3 separate regions of the Homo sapiens genome follow, and all the other regions are linked to region 2. Evidence: promoter capture Hi-C in human tissues and cell types (Jung and others, 2019). All regions are on one chromosome and are shown on one strand. Each heading gives the region's core, a stretch centred on a gene start or on the middle of the fragment in contact. The rest is flanking DNA. Distances are from core to core; before and after follow the strand shown. Region 1 overlaps CACNG7 (calcium voltage-gated channel auxiliary subunit gamma 7). Region 2 holds the start of NLRP12 (NLR family pyrin domain containing 12). Region 3 overlaps PRKCG (protein kinase C gamma).

Region 1 (4,929 bases), core at 222-2,721, 110 kb after region 2:
GTGTGGACTCATGTATTTTATTCTATTTTGTTTTTAATTTAGTTTTTGTTTTTTTGAGACGGAGTCTCACTCTGTCGCCCAGGCTGGATTGCAGTGGTGGGATCTCGGCTCACTGCAACCTCTGCCTCCTGGGTTCAAGCAATTCTTGTGCTTCAGCCTCCCAGGTAGCTGGGATTACAGGCACCCACCACCATGCCTGGCTAATTTTTGTATTTTTAGTAGAGATCAGGTTTCACCATGTTGGCCAGGCTGGTCTCAAACTCCTGACCTTAAGTGATCTGCCCACCTTGGCCTCCCAAAATGCAGAGATTATAGGCATGAGCCACCGTGCCCAGCCTAACTTAATTGAGTTTTTTGAGACAGTCTCCCTCTGTCACCCAGGCGGGAGTGCAGTGGTGCAGTCATAGCTCACTGCAGCCTTGAACTCCTAGGCTCGAGGGATCCTCCCTCCTGAGCCTCCCAAGTAGCTAAGACAACAGGAACTAATTATTTATTTTTAGTAGAGATGGGGTCTCACTATGTTGTCCAGGCTGGTCTTGAGCTGCTGACCTCAAGTGATCTGCCCACCTCGGCCTCCCGAGGTGCGGAGATTCCACTCATGAGCCACGGTGCCCAGCCTCCATTATTTTTCAACGGCAAGTCATGCTGCGATAAATCAGCCTGTGCATGTGTGGTTTCCCATCACGGGAGAGATATCCTCAGGATAAATTCCTGGAAGTGGGATTGCTGGGTTAAAGGACAGATCCGTGTGTGATTTTGTTAGATGCTACTAAATCCCCTTTCACGTGGCGGCACCGTTTTGCATTCCCACCAGCAATGTAGAAGAACGTCCATTCTCTCAGCCTCCCCAAAAGAGTGTGCTGTGAAGCTTTTAAACTTCTGACTACCCGGTTGATGAGAAGTGGTAGCTCATCATATTTTTCATTTGCATTTCTCAAATTTTGAGTGAGGGAAATCTACTTTTTTCAACAGGGAGATCATAAAAGTCTCCTCCCCCCTTCCCTTCCCTCCCCTCCCCTCCCCTCCCCTCCCCTCCTTCTCGGAGTTTTGCTCTTGTTGCCCAGGCTGGAGTGCAGTGGCACGATCTTGACTCATTGCAACCTCTGCTTCCTGGGTTCAAGTAATCCTCCTGCCTCAGCATCCCGAGTAGCTGGGGTTACGAGTGTGTGCCATCGCACCCAGCTAATTTTTGTATTTTTAGTAGAGACGAGGTTTCACCACGGTGGCCAGGCTGGTCTGAAACCCCTGGTCTCAAGTGATCCTTTCACCTGGGCCTCCCAAAGTGCTGGGATTACAGGCTTAAGCCACTGCGCCTGGCCCATAGAAGGTCTTTCTAAAGAGGCAACAAGTGAGGAGAGATCTAAGTGACAGAAATAGACATGGGGAAATCTGGGGGAAGAGCATTCCAGGTAGAAGGAATGGCAAGACCAAAGGCCCTGAGGCAGAAGTGAGCTTGAGGAGTTCAAGGAAGAGCAAGAAAGTTAGGTGTTCTAGGCCGAGTGTGGTGGCTCACGCTTGTAATCCCAGCACTTTGGGAGGCCAAGGTGGAAGAACTGCTTGAGCTCAGGAGTTCGAGACCAGCCTGGGCAACATGGGGAGACCCTGTCTCTACAAAAAAATGCAAAAGTTAGCCCCGCATGGTGGTGCATGCCTGTTGTCCCAGCTACTCATGAGTCTGAGGTGTGAGGATTGCTTGAGCCAGGGAGGTGGAGGCTGCAGTGAGCTATGATTGCACCAATGCACTCCTGCCTGGACAACAGAGCAAGACCCTGTCCCAAAAAGAAAAAAAGTAAAGAAAGTTAGGTGGTCTAAGAAAAAGAAACAAGGAGAAACTGATCAGAGATGGTGTGGGCAGGTACCGGACCATTTATATACTGCAGTCTAAGAGGTCAGCGAAGTTTTCTGTAAAGAGCCAAATAATAAATACCTTCAGCTTTATTGGCCACCCAGTCTCTCTTGTAACTGCTCAGCCTTGTGGTTGTAGCAAAAAACCAGTCACAGGCAATATGTAAACAAATGGGTGTGGCTGTGTTCCACTATCATTTGTAGAAACCAAAATTTAAAATTAATGTACTTTAAAAAGTTGAGATATAAAGCCAGGCACAGTGGCTCACGCCTGTAATCCCAGCACTCTGGGAGATGAGGTGTGCAGATCACTTGAGATCAGGAGTTCGAGACCAGCCTGGGCAACATGGCAAAACCCTGTCTCTGCAAAAAATACAAAAAATTAGCCGGGCGTGGTGGTGTGCACCTGTAGTCCCAGCTACTAGGGAGGCTGAGGTGGGAGGATCACTTGAGCCTGGGAAGTGAAGGCTGCAGTGAGCCATGATTGTCCCAGTGCTCTCCAGCCTGGGTGACAGAGCAAGACCCTGTCTTCAAAACAAAACAAAACAAAACAAAAAAGGCCGGGTGTGGTGGCTCACACCTGTAATCCCAGCACTTTGGGAGGCCAAGGTGGGCAGATCACTTAAGGTCAGGAGTTTGAGACCAGCCTGGTCAACATTGTGAAGCCCTGTCTCTACTAAAAATACAAAAATTAGCCAGGCATGGTGGCGGGTGCCTGTTAATTCCAGCTACGCAGGAGGCTGAGGCAGGAGAATCGCTTGAGTCCAGGAGGCAGAGGTTGCGGTGAGCCGAGATTGCACCACTACACTCCAGCCTAGGTGACAGAGCAAGAATCTGTCTCAAAAAATTCCAAAAAACAAAAAACAAAATTGAGATGTAATTCACATACTATAAATTTCATATAATTCAGTGATGTTTCAGTACATCCACAAGGTTGTGCAACCATCTCCATTAGCTAATTTCACAACATTTTCATTATTCTCAAAAGAAACCTCACACACCTTAGCAGCCAGACACAATTTCCCCCTCCATCCTATTCCCTGGCAACCACTAATCTACTTTCTGTCTCTGTGGATTTGCCTATTCTGGACATTGCATATAAATGGAATCACACAATATGTGATATTTTGCATCTGGCTTCTTTTAGCTTGCTTTCTAGGTTCATCCCTATGGTAGCATGAATCAGTATATCGTTCCCTTTTTTGGCTGAATAGTATTCCTGTATATGGATATACCACATTTTGTTTATCCATTCATCAGCTGATGGGCATTTGGGCTGTTTCCGCTTTTTGGCTATTACGCATAACGCTGTTACAAACATCCGTGTATGCGTTTTTGTATGAACATATGTTTCCACTTCTCTTGGGGACATACCTAGGAGTGGAATTGCTGGGTCATATGATAATTCTATCTTTAACTTTTTGAGGCGCTGCCAAATGAAATTCATATACTTTTTATGTGCCACAAAATACCAGTCTTGTTTTGATTTTTAACATCATTTACTTATGTGAAAGCCATTCTTAGCTGGTGGGCCATACACAATGAGGGGGTGAGCTGGGTTTCGTCCATGGACCATGGTTTGCCGACCACCGGTGTAGACAGTGGAAGGAATTTGGGCTTATTCTGTGTGTGGCACACAGAATGTAGGATTCTAGGGGAAGAGGTTGATAGGGATTAGTTAGATACATTTAAGGCAGGGAACTTTATAGCCTCCTTAAGCCACTCTTGGCATGGTTACTGTTTAGAGGAAATTTCATCTGGAGAAAATGATAATCGCCTCTTAGAAATTCTCAGATTGGACCTCTCCTCTGCACACTGTCCGTATGCTCTATTTCCTCAATTGTAAATGGTGTTAAAAATGTACCTCCTTCAAAGAGGTGTTGTGAAGTTTGAATGAATGTATATATATACACAACACCAAGAACAGTGCCTGGCACAGACCAAGACCTATATAAGTCGTTGCTATTATTATTGCTATTGTTGCAATTATTATCCACACAGCCTCAGCTCAGGCCTCATCCTCTTCGCCCTGGAATATGTCTCCCTCCAGTCTGTTCCCAGCATCAACCAGCCCCCAAAGTTTCTTCTAACACTGGGATCTGGCCCTGTCCTTCCTCTGCTACAAACTTTGTGTAGCTCCCTAGCACCCTTGGCGTCAACACCCAGCTCCTGGGCCCGGCATTCGAGGCTCACCATGGCTATACCTTCCCCTTTCTCTAACCTCATTTCTTGTGGCTACAGCTTATGTTACAGCTACATGGGTGGACCAGCTCTATTTTCCCTCCTTCCGAAACCTTTGCCCATGCTGTGCACTCTGCCAGTGTGCCCTTATTCTTCTCTGGGCCTCATCCTTTAAGGCCGGGCGCGGTGGCTCAAACCTGTAATCTTAGCATTTGGGGAGGCCGAGGTGGGTGGATCACCTGAGGTCAGGAGTTTGAGACCAGCCTGGCCAACATGGTGAAACCCCGTCTCTACTAAAAATATAAAAAAAAAAATTAGTCGGGAGTGGTGGCGGGCGCCTGTAATCCCAGCTACTTGGGAGGCTGAGGCAGGAGAATCGCTTGAACCTGGGAGGTTGAAGGTTGCGGTGAGCCGAGATCGGGCCACTGCACTCCAGCCCAGGCCACAGAGTGAGACTCCATTTCAAAAAAAAAAAAAGAGAGAAAAGAAAAGAAGACTTGAACAAAGAAATCTTTCCTTCATTTCTCTTGCCCCTGCCCCAGGCAGGTTTGGCACTCCTTCCAGAGTCCCACACAGCGTGCTACTTCCTTGTAGCACCTATCACCTTATATGTGACTTAATCAGTGTGTTCCTATTTTCCTTCTCCAATTGTATTGTGAGCTCCTGGATGGCAGATTTAGGGGGATAAAGGGGGAGGTGGTTGTTGATTCATCTCTGGGCTCCCTGCACCCAACCAAGGCCCAGCATACAAGGGGCTTCAGGGAAGTTAGTCCAGGACAGAATGGGGAGGAGGGGAAGGCAGTGAGGTGGGGCTGGGGCTGGGAAAAGGGGCCCACTTCTAATGGACGAGGGCACCCCCTCTGCTCCCCTAGGCCTCTCCTTGGTGGTGGGCTTGGTTCTTTA
Region 2 (4,580 bases), core at 1,292-3,791:
GAGGAGTAAATACTTTACTTTAGAGAAGGTAGTGGCTTCAAGGTTTCAGTAAGTAATACTTTTCCAGGCAAAGAAGATGGAGAATATTCCAGGCAGAACACAGCATGAACAAAGACCAAAGGGATGAAATTAGAATTCTGTACACAGTCATAAAAAAGAACAAAATCATGTTCTTTGCAGTAACATGGACGCAGCTGGAGGCCATTATCCAAAGCAAACTAATGCAGGAATAGAAAACCAAAGACTGCATGTTCTCACTTATAAGTGGAAGCTAAACATTGGGTTCTCATGGACAGAAAGATGGGAAGAAGAGACACTGGGGACTCGTGGCGGGGAGAAATCTCACCATTGGGTACTATTACTATGTTCAAGTACCTGCATGATAGGATCAATCTTACTCTGAATCTCAGCATCACTCAATATACCCATGTAACAAACCTGCACATGTACCCCTTGAATCTAAAAGTTGAAATTTTTATATAGATATAGATGTGTGTGTACGTAAATTAGAATTCCAGATCTCCCAGGCTCAGGGATTAGTATGAAAGAAAAGGGAATTGGTGGCCAGGCAGTGGTCATTCATGCCTGTAATCCCAGCACTTTGGGAGGCTAAGGTGGAAGCTCGCTTGAGCCCAGGAGTTCAAGACCAGCCCGGGCAACATAAGGACACCTCATCTTGGCCGGGCACAGTGGCTTATGCCCGTAATCCCAGCACTTTGGGAGGCTGAGGTGGGTGGATCACGAGGTCAGAAGTTCAAGACCAGCCTGGCCAAGATAGTGAAACCCCGTCTCTACAAAAAATACAAATACAAAAAATTAGCCAGGCATGGTGGCAGGTACCTGTAATCTCAGCTACTCGGGATGCTGAGGCAGAAAATTGCTTGAACCTGGGAGACGGAGGTTGCAGTGAGCGGAGATTGCGCCACTGCACTCCAGCCTGGGCAACAGAGCGAGACTCAGTCTTAAAAAAAAAAAAAAAAAAGGATACCTCATCTCTTTCTTAATTTATTTTTGAGATGGGGTTTCACTCTGTTACCCAGCCTGGAGTACAGTGGTGCAATCTCAACTCACTGCAATCTCCACCTCTCAGGTTCAAGCGATTCTCCTGCCTCAGCCTCCCATGTAGCTGGGACTATAAGCGTGTGCCACCACGCCTGGCTAATTTTTGTATTTTTAGTAGAGACAGGGTTTTGCTATGTTGGCCAGACTGATCTCGAATTCCTGACCTCAGGTGACCCACCCGCCTTGGCCTCCCAAAGTGCTGGGATTATAGGTGTGAGCCACTGCACCTGGCTACCTCATCTCTTAAAATATATATACACACACACATATACACACACATATATATACACATATATACACATATATATACGTGTGTGTATATATATATAAATTCCAGATCTCCCAGGCTCAGGGATTTTATATATATGTATTTTAAATATTTATTTTAATAATATATGTATTAAATATTTAATATATAATATTTATTATTTATATATATTTATATAATATACCATATTTATATAATATAGTATATTTATATAATAAATATATACTATATTTATATATAATATATACCATATTTAATATATATTTAATAATATAATTATATACATATTTTAAATATATATTTAAAATATATGTTTTAAATATATATATTTAAAATATATGTTTTAAATATATATTTTAAATATATATTTAAAATATATATTTTAAAATATATTTATTTAAAATATATATTTAAAACATATATTTTAAATATATATATTTTAAAAAAATATATTTTAAATATTTGAGGCAAGGTCTCGTTCTGTCACCTAGGCTGGGGTGCAGTGGCAGGATCATAGCTCACCGCAGCCTCGACCTTCTGGTCTCAAGTGATCCTCCCACCTCAGCCTCCTGAGAAGCTGGGATCACAGACGTATACCACCACACCTGGCTAATTTTTTTTATTTTTGGTAGAGACAGAGCCTCACTATGTTGTCCAGACTGGTCTTGAACTCCTCACCTCAAGTGATCTGCCCTCTTCAGCCTCCCAAAGTGCTGAGATTACAGGTATGAGTCACTGGACCCGGCTGGCATTCTAGCCTTGCCTGTCCCGCCACCTCCTTACCCCTCACCAGGTCCTCTCTCTGTCCTCTCTCCCACAGGTCCTTCCTGTTTATCCGCTCAAAGGTGCTGAGAGCCAACCTCCAGGCCTCCTCTGGCCCGAAGTGGGTGATGAGCAGCTGGGCCATTTCCAGGGGACCGGCCTTCTCCATGCTTCCCCAGGGGATCTTGCCTTCTCCCAGCTCTGTCGCGGTCCCCAGGTATAACTTGAACTTCTTCAGTTCCACAGCCTCGAGTTCTTCCAAGTAGGTGGACAGGCGACAGAGGCCGTCCCTGCCTGCGGTTCGTAGCATGGGGGTGCCGTGAGCCCCAAAGGAGAGGACCTGGAGGCTGAGATGCTCCTATGCACGGGACACAGGGCGACCCCAGCACACCTTCCATTGCATCATTCACAGGCAGCGGGCGGAGAGGCTGAGCCAGTGGTTGGAGGAGAGAGCAAGGGAGGAAAGACCTTTTGCTGAAATAATGCTTTCTCACTCTTCAGTTCCCTCCTGCCCTGCCCCACTCACCAATGGCTGTTCTGGGTGGAGAAGAGGAAGTTCGGGGGGAGATTAAGAAATCCGAGGAGCCACTTGGCTGATGAAAAAGATTTTCACTTCTGCTGTCTCTTCCTGGATCTCTTGACAAAACAGTCACTCTCTTTCCGCTTTCCTCTTGTTTTCCTCATTTCACTAGTGTGTGTGGTAGAGTGTATTATCAAAACTGCGACTGCGCCTCTTCCAGGGAGAATTTTTTTTTTTTTGAGACAGAGTCTTACTCTGTGGCCCTGGCTCTGCGATCTTGGCTCACCGCAACCTCTGCCTCCCAGGTTCAAGCGATTCTCCCACCTCAGCTTCCCTTGAGTAGCTGGGATTACAGGCGCCGGACACCACACCCAGCTAATTTTTGTGGTTTTAGAAGAGACAGGGTTTCACCATGTTGGTCAGGCTGGTCTCGAACTCCTGACCTCAGGTGATCCACCCGCCTCAGCCTTCCAAAGTGCTAGGATTACAGGTGTGAGCCACCGTCCCTGGCTTTTTTTTTTTTTTTTTTCTTTGAGTCAGAGTCTCACTCTGCCACCCAGGCTAGAGTTCACTGGCGTGATCTCAGCTCACTGCAACCTCCGCCTCCCAGGTTCCAGCGATTCTCCCACCTCAGCCTCTCAAGTAGCTGGGACCACAGACATGCGCCACCATGCCCAGCTAAGTTTTTGTAGTTTTGGTAGAGACAAGGTCTTCTTATGTTGCCCAGGCTGGCCTTGAACTCCTGAGCTCAAACGATCCGCCCACCTCAGCCTTCCAAAGTGCTGGGATTACAGGCATGAGCCACTGAGCCCAGCCTCAGGGAGAATTATTAAGGACCTCACGTAGGTCTGCTATTTTTTTTCTGTTCTCTCAGTCACAAGAGTGGCATGAGAGGGACTTTGCGGTAGGCAGGATGATGGTCCCCAAAGATATTCATGTCCTAATGGCCAGAACCTGTGACATTTCACCCTACATAGCAAAAGAGACTTAGCATATGTGACCAAATGAAGGCACTTCAGATGGGGACATTATCCTGGTTATCTGGGCAGGACCCATGGAATCACAAGAGTCTTTTTTTTGAGACAGAGTCTTGCTCTGTTGCCCAGGCTGGAGTGCAGTGGCACGAACTCGGATCACTGCAAGCTCCGCCTCCCAGGTTCACACCATTCTCCTGCCTCAGCCTTCCGTATAGCTGGGACTACAGGTGCCCGCCAACACGCCTGGCTAATTCTCTTTTTTTTGTATTTTTAGTAGAGATGGGGTTTCACCATGTTAGCCAGGATGGTCTTGATCTCCTGACTTCGTGATCCACCTGCCTCAGCCTCCCAAAGTGCTGGGATTACAGGCGTGAGCCACCGCACCCAGCCACAAGAGTCTTTATAAGAAGAAGACAGGAGGGTTAGTGTAAGAGGAAGATGTGACTGGGTGCAATGGCTCATGCCTGTAATCCTAGCACTTGGGGAGGCCAAGGCAGGTAGATCACCTGAGGCCAGGAGTTTCACACCAGACTGGTCAACACAGTGAGGCCCCATCTCTACAAAATATGTGTTAGCAGAATTTATGAATTCTGATGGAAGAGCAAGTTTATAATTCCCTCTGTCTCCTGCATCATGCCAACTTTGTTTCATGCTCCTAATCAATTAAGACCCCTCAGACACACACACACACACACACACACACACACACACACACACACACACACAAAAGCCTTCATAGCCAGGCGCAGTGGCTCACACCTGTAATCCCAGCACTTTGGGAGACTGAGGCGGGCAGATCACCTGAGGTCAGGAGTTTGAGACCAGCCTGGCCAACATGGTGAAACCCCGTCTCTACTAAAAATACAAAAATTAGCCGGGCTTGGTGGCACGCACCTGTAATCCCAGCTACTTGGGAGGCTGAGGCAGGAGAATCACTTGAACCCGGGAAGCAGAGGTTGCAGTGAGCCGAGACTGCGCCACTGCACTCCAG
Region 3 (4,485 bases), core at 337-2,836, 81 kb after region 2:
CAGTTGTCTAAATATTTAAAATTGGAAAATGGACATATGTGCAATTTCTTATTAATTCATTAAGTAGTAAGTTCTAATGGTAGTAAAGTAAAAAGGAGCTCTAACAGTAATTTTGATGTAGCAATGACTAATAATTTGGAATATCTGCAACTCTCATGTGATGAGAAAATACCTGTGATTACTATTGATAATGAAGCCACAAGCACTGCTGCTGCCTGCATTCATAACTGAAGGGAATGCTAAATTTTAGTTAGAAGTTAAAAAAAAATTTGGCCGGACATGGTGGCTCACGCCTGTAATCCAAGCACTTTGGGAGGCCGAAGTGGGCAGATCACTTGAGGTCAGGAGTTTGAGACCAGCCTGGCCAATATGATGAAACCCCATCTCTAAATCTTTGCCTTGGTATCATTTTTTGTAACCTCAGAAGACTGTGAACTACTCATCCAACCAGGAGAATGCTTTTAGGGTGTTTCCTGCAGTTTTTCCTCTCTTCTATTTAACTGACATGTTGCATAATTAACAGCCTGCTGATTTACATAGCAGATAAAGAGAGGCAGAATAGTACAGAGATGCACAGATCTGAGGCATCCGAGATAGGAAATGAGAGAACCTGAGAAGGAGAGAGATCAAGCTTTGGTGGTTTGGTCTGATCTCTCCTGAGGGTGTGGTCAGGTGTGCATGTGGGGCGTGTGATGGGTCAGGCATGTTCCCGGTGGGGTGAGGAGGGTGTGGAAGGTTTGGGGAAAGGCAGTTGGGCATGTCCCTGACTCTCTATCCCCTCCACTTTGATAGCCTCCCTTCGATGGGGAGGACGAGGAGGAGCTGTTTCAGGCCATCATGGAACAAACTGTCACCTACCCCAAGTCGCTTTCCCGGGAAGCCGTGGCCATCTGCAAGGGGGTGAGAGCCCCCTGACTCCCAGCTTCTCCAGGCTCACAACCACACACCCCATTGCTGTCTCTGTGCCTATTAGAAAAATGCTCCCATTCCTGAAGTCACTTTACTTCCATCTGTTGGAAAAGTTGATATGATGCATAGGTTTTGTTAGAACAATGATTTCCAGCCCTGTTGCCACGAGGCCTGGAGATGGCCTCTGTCTCATCCTTCTCTGTGACTCCCACTCCCCAGCTCCCTGCTTGCAGGAAGTGCTGAAAGTCCAGGGTGTCTGTCTGTCTAGAACTGGGTGGGTCAGGTAAACCCAACTTCTGCAGCTTTTCTTCCTGTGTGAACTTGGGTGAGTCACCAAAACTTTGTGAGCTTAACTCTCTTCAGGGGTTATGGAGTTGACACAGAAGAAAGCACCTGGCCCATAGCAGATTTTCAGCCCATGTCAGCACCTTCTGCGTCTAGCTGCTCTCTCTGCATCTCCCTGACAGTCTCTCTGGTTTCTGTCTCATGCCTCCCCTCCATCTGCATACGATGGGGCTCTCTGTGTTTCTTCCTTTTCTCTGTGTCTCCTTCTGCATCTCTGTCTACACTTTTGGGCCTTTGTCCAACCCCCCTACCCCCCATCTCTGTCCCCTCCTGTGTCCACTCTCATACACACACGCTACATCTCACCCTCCTCTCCTGCTGGCTTTCTGTCCTCCCTTTTCTCTGGGTCTCTGTCCCCATATTTGGTCTTTATTCCTCCCTCTGGGTGTGTGTTTCCTGGGTCTCTATCCTTCTCTCTTTCTGAATCTCTGTCCCCCTGGGTCTCCTCTGTCTCCTCCCTTCTCTGAGTTTCTGCCTTCTTACCTGGGGTCTCTGTACCACCCTCTGAATTTCTATTTCCCCTTTTCTCTGGGTCTGCAACCTCTCTTCCCCCATTCCCTCCCTCTTCCCCTTCATCTCCTCTACCCTTCCCTCCCTCCCCCTACCGACCTCCCTCTGTCCTTCACTCTCCCCTTCCCTCCCTCCCCCTACCCTTCCCTCTCCCCGTCCCTCTCTCCCCTTCCCTCTCTCCCCCTACCCCTTTTCCCTCTCCTCTTCTCCATCTCCCTCATGATTTGTTCTGTTTCTCTGTGTGTCCCTGGGTCTCTGGGTATGAATTTCATCTGCTATCATTTTCATGTATCCTCTCCTTCTTCCTGTCTCTCTCTCTCTCTCTCTCACTCACTCTCACCCTCTGTCTCTCTCTCTCTCTGTCCCTCTTCCTCTCTCTCTCCTCTCTGTCTCTCTCTGTCTCGCTCTCTGTCTGTCTCCCTCCTCCTCCTCCTCCCTCCTCCTCCTCCTCCTCCTCCTCCTCCTCCTCCTCCTCCTCCTTCTTCTTCTTCTTCTTCTTCTTCTTCTTCTTCTTTTCTTCTCTCTCTCTCTCCTTTCTTTTCCCTTCCTCCCTCCATTTGCCTGTTTCCCCTGGCTGTTCTTATCTCTCCGGATCTCATGCCTGTGTCTCTTGGTTCCTCCATCTGCCTGTCTCTGTCCCTCTTTCTCTGGGTCTACCTGTCCGGCACTCTGTCTGTTTGTCTGTCTGTCTCTCTCTGTGTTTCCCACAGTTCCTGACCAAGCACCCAGGGAAGCGCCTGGGCTCAGGGCCTGATGGGGAACCTACCATCCGTGCACATGGCTTTTTCCGCTGGATTGACTGGGAGCGGCTGGAACGATTGGAGATCCCGCCTCCTTTCAGACCCCGCCCGGTCAGTCACCCTCCAGGCAACAAAAACCTGGTCCCTGAAGGGGTGGGGTTCCCCTGGGCCTCAATATACCTGTATGTGGGGGTGGGGTTCCCTCTGCAGAGCCCCCCGCCCCCAACAAAAGGAGGTGCAGACACCATGAAGCATGAATAGAGATTCTGCAGGAGACAGGAGATGAGACTGGGGTACACAGAGGGACACCCGAGGAGCCCTCGGAGCTGCTTAACTTTCCCTCCCCCACGTCTCCCACAGTGTGGCCGCAGCGGCGAGAACTTTGACAAGTTCTTCACGCGGGCGGCGCCAGCGCTGACCCCTCCAGACCGCCTAGTCCTGGCCAGCATCGACCAGGCCGATTTCCAGGGCTTCACCTACGTGAACCCCGACTTCGTGCACCCGGATGCCCGCAGCCCCACCAGCCCAGTGCCTGTGCCCGTCATGTAATCTCACCCGCCGCCACTAGGTGTCCCCAACGTCCCCTCCGCCGTGCCGGCGGCAGCCCCACTTCACCCCCAACTTCACCACCCCCTGTCCCATTCTAGATCCTGCACCCCAGCATTCCAGCTCTGCCCCCGCGGGTTCTAGACGCCCCTCCCAAGCGTTCCTGGCCTTCTGAACTCCATACAGCCTCTACAGCCGTCCCGCGTTCAAGACTTGAGCGGAGCCCGATATTCTCCCTGACCTTAGCGTTCTGGACTCTGCCCCAATCGGGTCCAGAGACCACACCACTAACCATCCCCAACTCCATGGGGTTCGAGACTCCATCTTGGTAGTTCTGTGCCTCCCCCCAGACCCCGCCCCTGGGGAAATAGCCTCACGGGGTTGGCTGTTCCAGACTCAGGTTCCAGAACAGCCCTCGGCCTCCGAGGCTCCCCGCCTCCACTCTAGTTCTAGATGAGTGGGAGGCGTGCCCCCCTCCTCCAGTACGTCCCGCTGCTGTGCTCTGGGGATTTCTGGGATATATGGAGGATTCTTTCCCCAGAGGCTCCCAATCAGCTTTTGTTCTAGACTTCCCCATCCCGAAGCCATCACTTCTCCCCGCAGCCCGCCTGCCGTGCATGGCTCCTGTCTGGCTCGGACCCACCCCAACTCTCCCCAGTGCCTGCCACTCTCTGGGACTCTCCTCCTCCCCTCCTCTTCCCTTAGCCTCTCCCACCCGGCCACAGCTGCTGGAGAATAAATTTGGGATGCTGATGCTGAAGTGTTTGGATATTTTCTTGTAAGCTTGGAGAATGAACGGGGTGTGGAGGCGGGACAGTGACTGTACATAGACACAAACAGAGAAGGAAAGCACGGAGACCCACAAAGTGAGAGGGGAGACACCCACTGCAGGGGAGCAAGCAGAGAAGCGCGCGCAGACAGAGGCAGGAGACCCAGACAGACAGAGACAGGGAGAGAAAATATCACAGAGGGCACCAACGTGGACAGTGCACAGCGAGAGAGGGGCACGGAGATCACTGAGAGTGCCAGGTGGCGACCCCCGCGCAGAGACCCAGCGCGTCCGTGTTCACCAGAGCAGCCACGCAAGCTCACATGCACCCCCAGGCTCAGACACCGGGGAGAAGTCCTTCCCAAGCGGGGAGATCACAGTCTGGCCTCTTCTTGAGAGACCTAGAGACCTGATCAGAGGAAGAGACCCCCACGCCAGAGCAACCAAAAACAGCCAGAACCCGAGAGCCTAGGAATCGGCGACGGAGGCACACGGCAGGCAGACGCGCCTTCTGGGCCTCTTTCCCTTGACCCACTTGAGAGTCTGGGGAGTGCCGGGGACCGTGCAGATGGACTACATTTCCCCGCAGGCCTCGCGGCAGACCCTTCCCCCAAGTGCGGCTCCTTGCCGCCAGGGCTGATGGGAAATGTAGTCTCCGGTCAGGGC

Evidence for each region. The method cuts DNA at HindIII sites, captures the fragments that hold promoters and counts their contacts. A contact is called where the count stands out against the background at its distance.
Region 1: a fragment that was not itself captured here is called in contact with the fragment with the promoter of NLRP12 in region 2 in 2 of the 25 tissues and cell types used here (heart left ventricle and spleen).
Region 3: a fragment that was not itself captured here is called in contact with the fragment with the promoter of NLRP12 in region 2 in 2 of the 25 tissues and cell types used here (H1 embryonic stem cells and thymus).

What each region holds. Positions count from the first base shown.
Region 1 is chr19:53,936,572-53,941,500 of GRCh38, forward strand. CACNG7 (calcium voltage-gated channel auxiliary subunit gamma 7) reads left to right here. Exons shown (of 6, transcript NM_031896.5): 5 at 4,899-4,929. Among named protein-coding and RNA genes, the nearest start is that of CACNG8, 24 kb to the right of the region's middle. The HindIII fragment of the contact is 6,086 bases long and covers 1-4,514 here.
Region 2 is chr19:53,821,773-53,826,352 of GRCh38, forward strand. NLRP12 (NLR family pyrin domain containing 12) reads right to left here and starts at 2,542. Exons shown (of 10, transcript NM_144687.4): 1 at 2,114-2,542. The coding sequence starts at 2,402. The HindIII fragment of the contact is 28,124 bases long and covers 1-4,580 here.
Region 3 is chr19:53,903,843-53,908,327 of GRCh38, forward strand. PRKCG (protein kinase C gamma) reads left to right here. Exons shown (of 18, transcript NM_002739.5): 16 at 793-900; 17 at 2,475-2,615; 18 at 2,865-3,810. The coding sequence ends at 3,053. Among named protein-coding and RNA genes, the nearest start is that of CACNG7, 3.2 kb to the right of the region's middle. RefSeq lists an enhancer at 3,521-4,062. The HindIII fragment of the contact is 5,202 bases long and covers 1-4,187 here.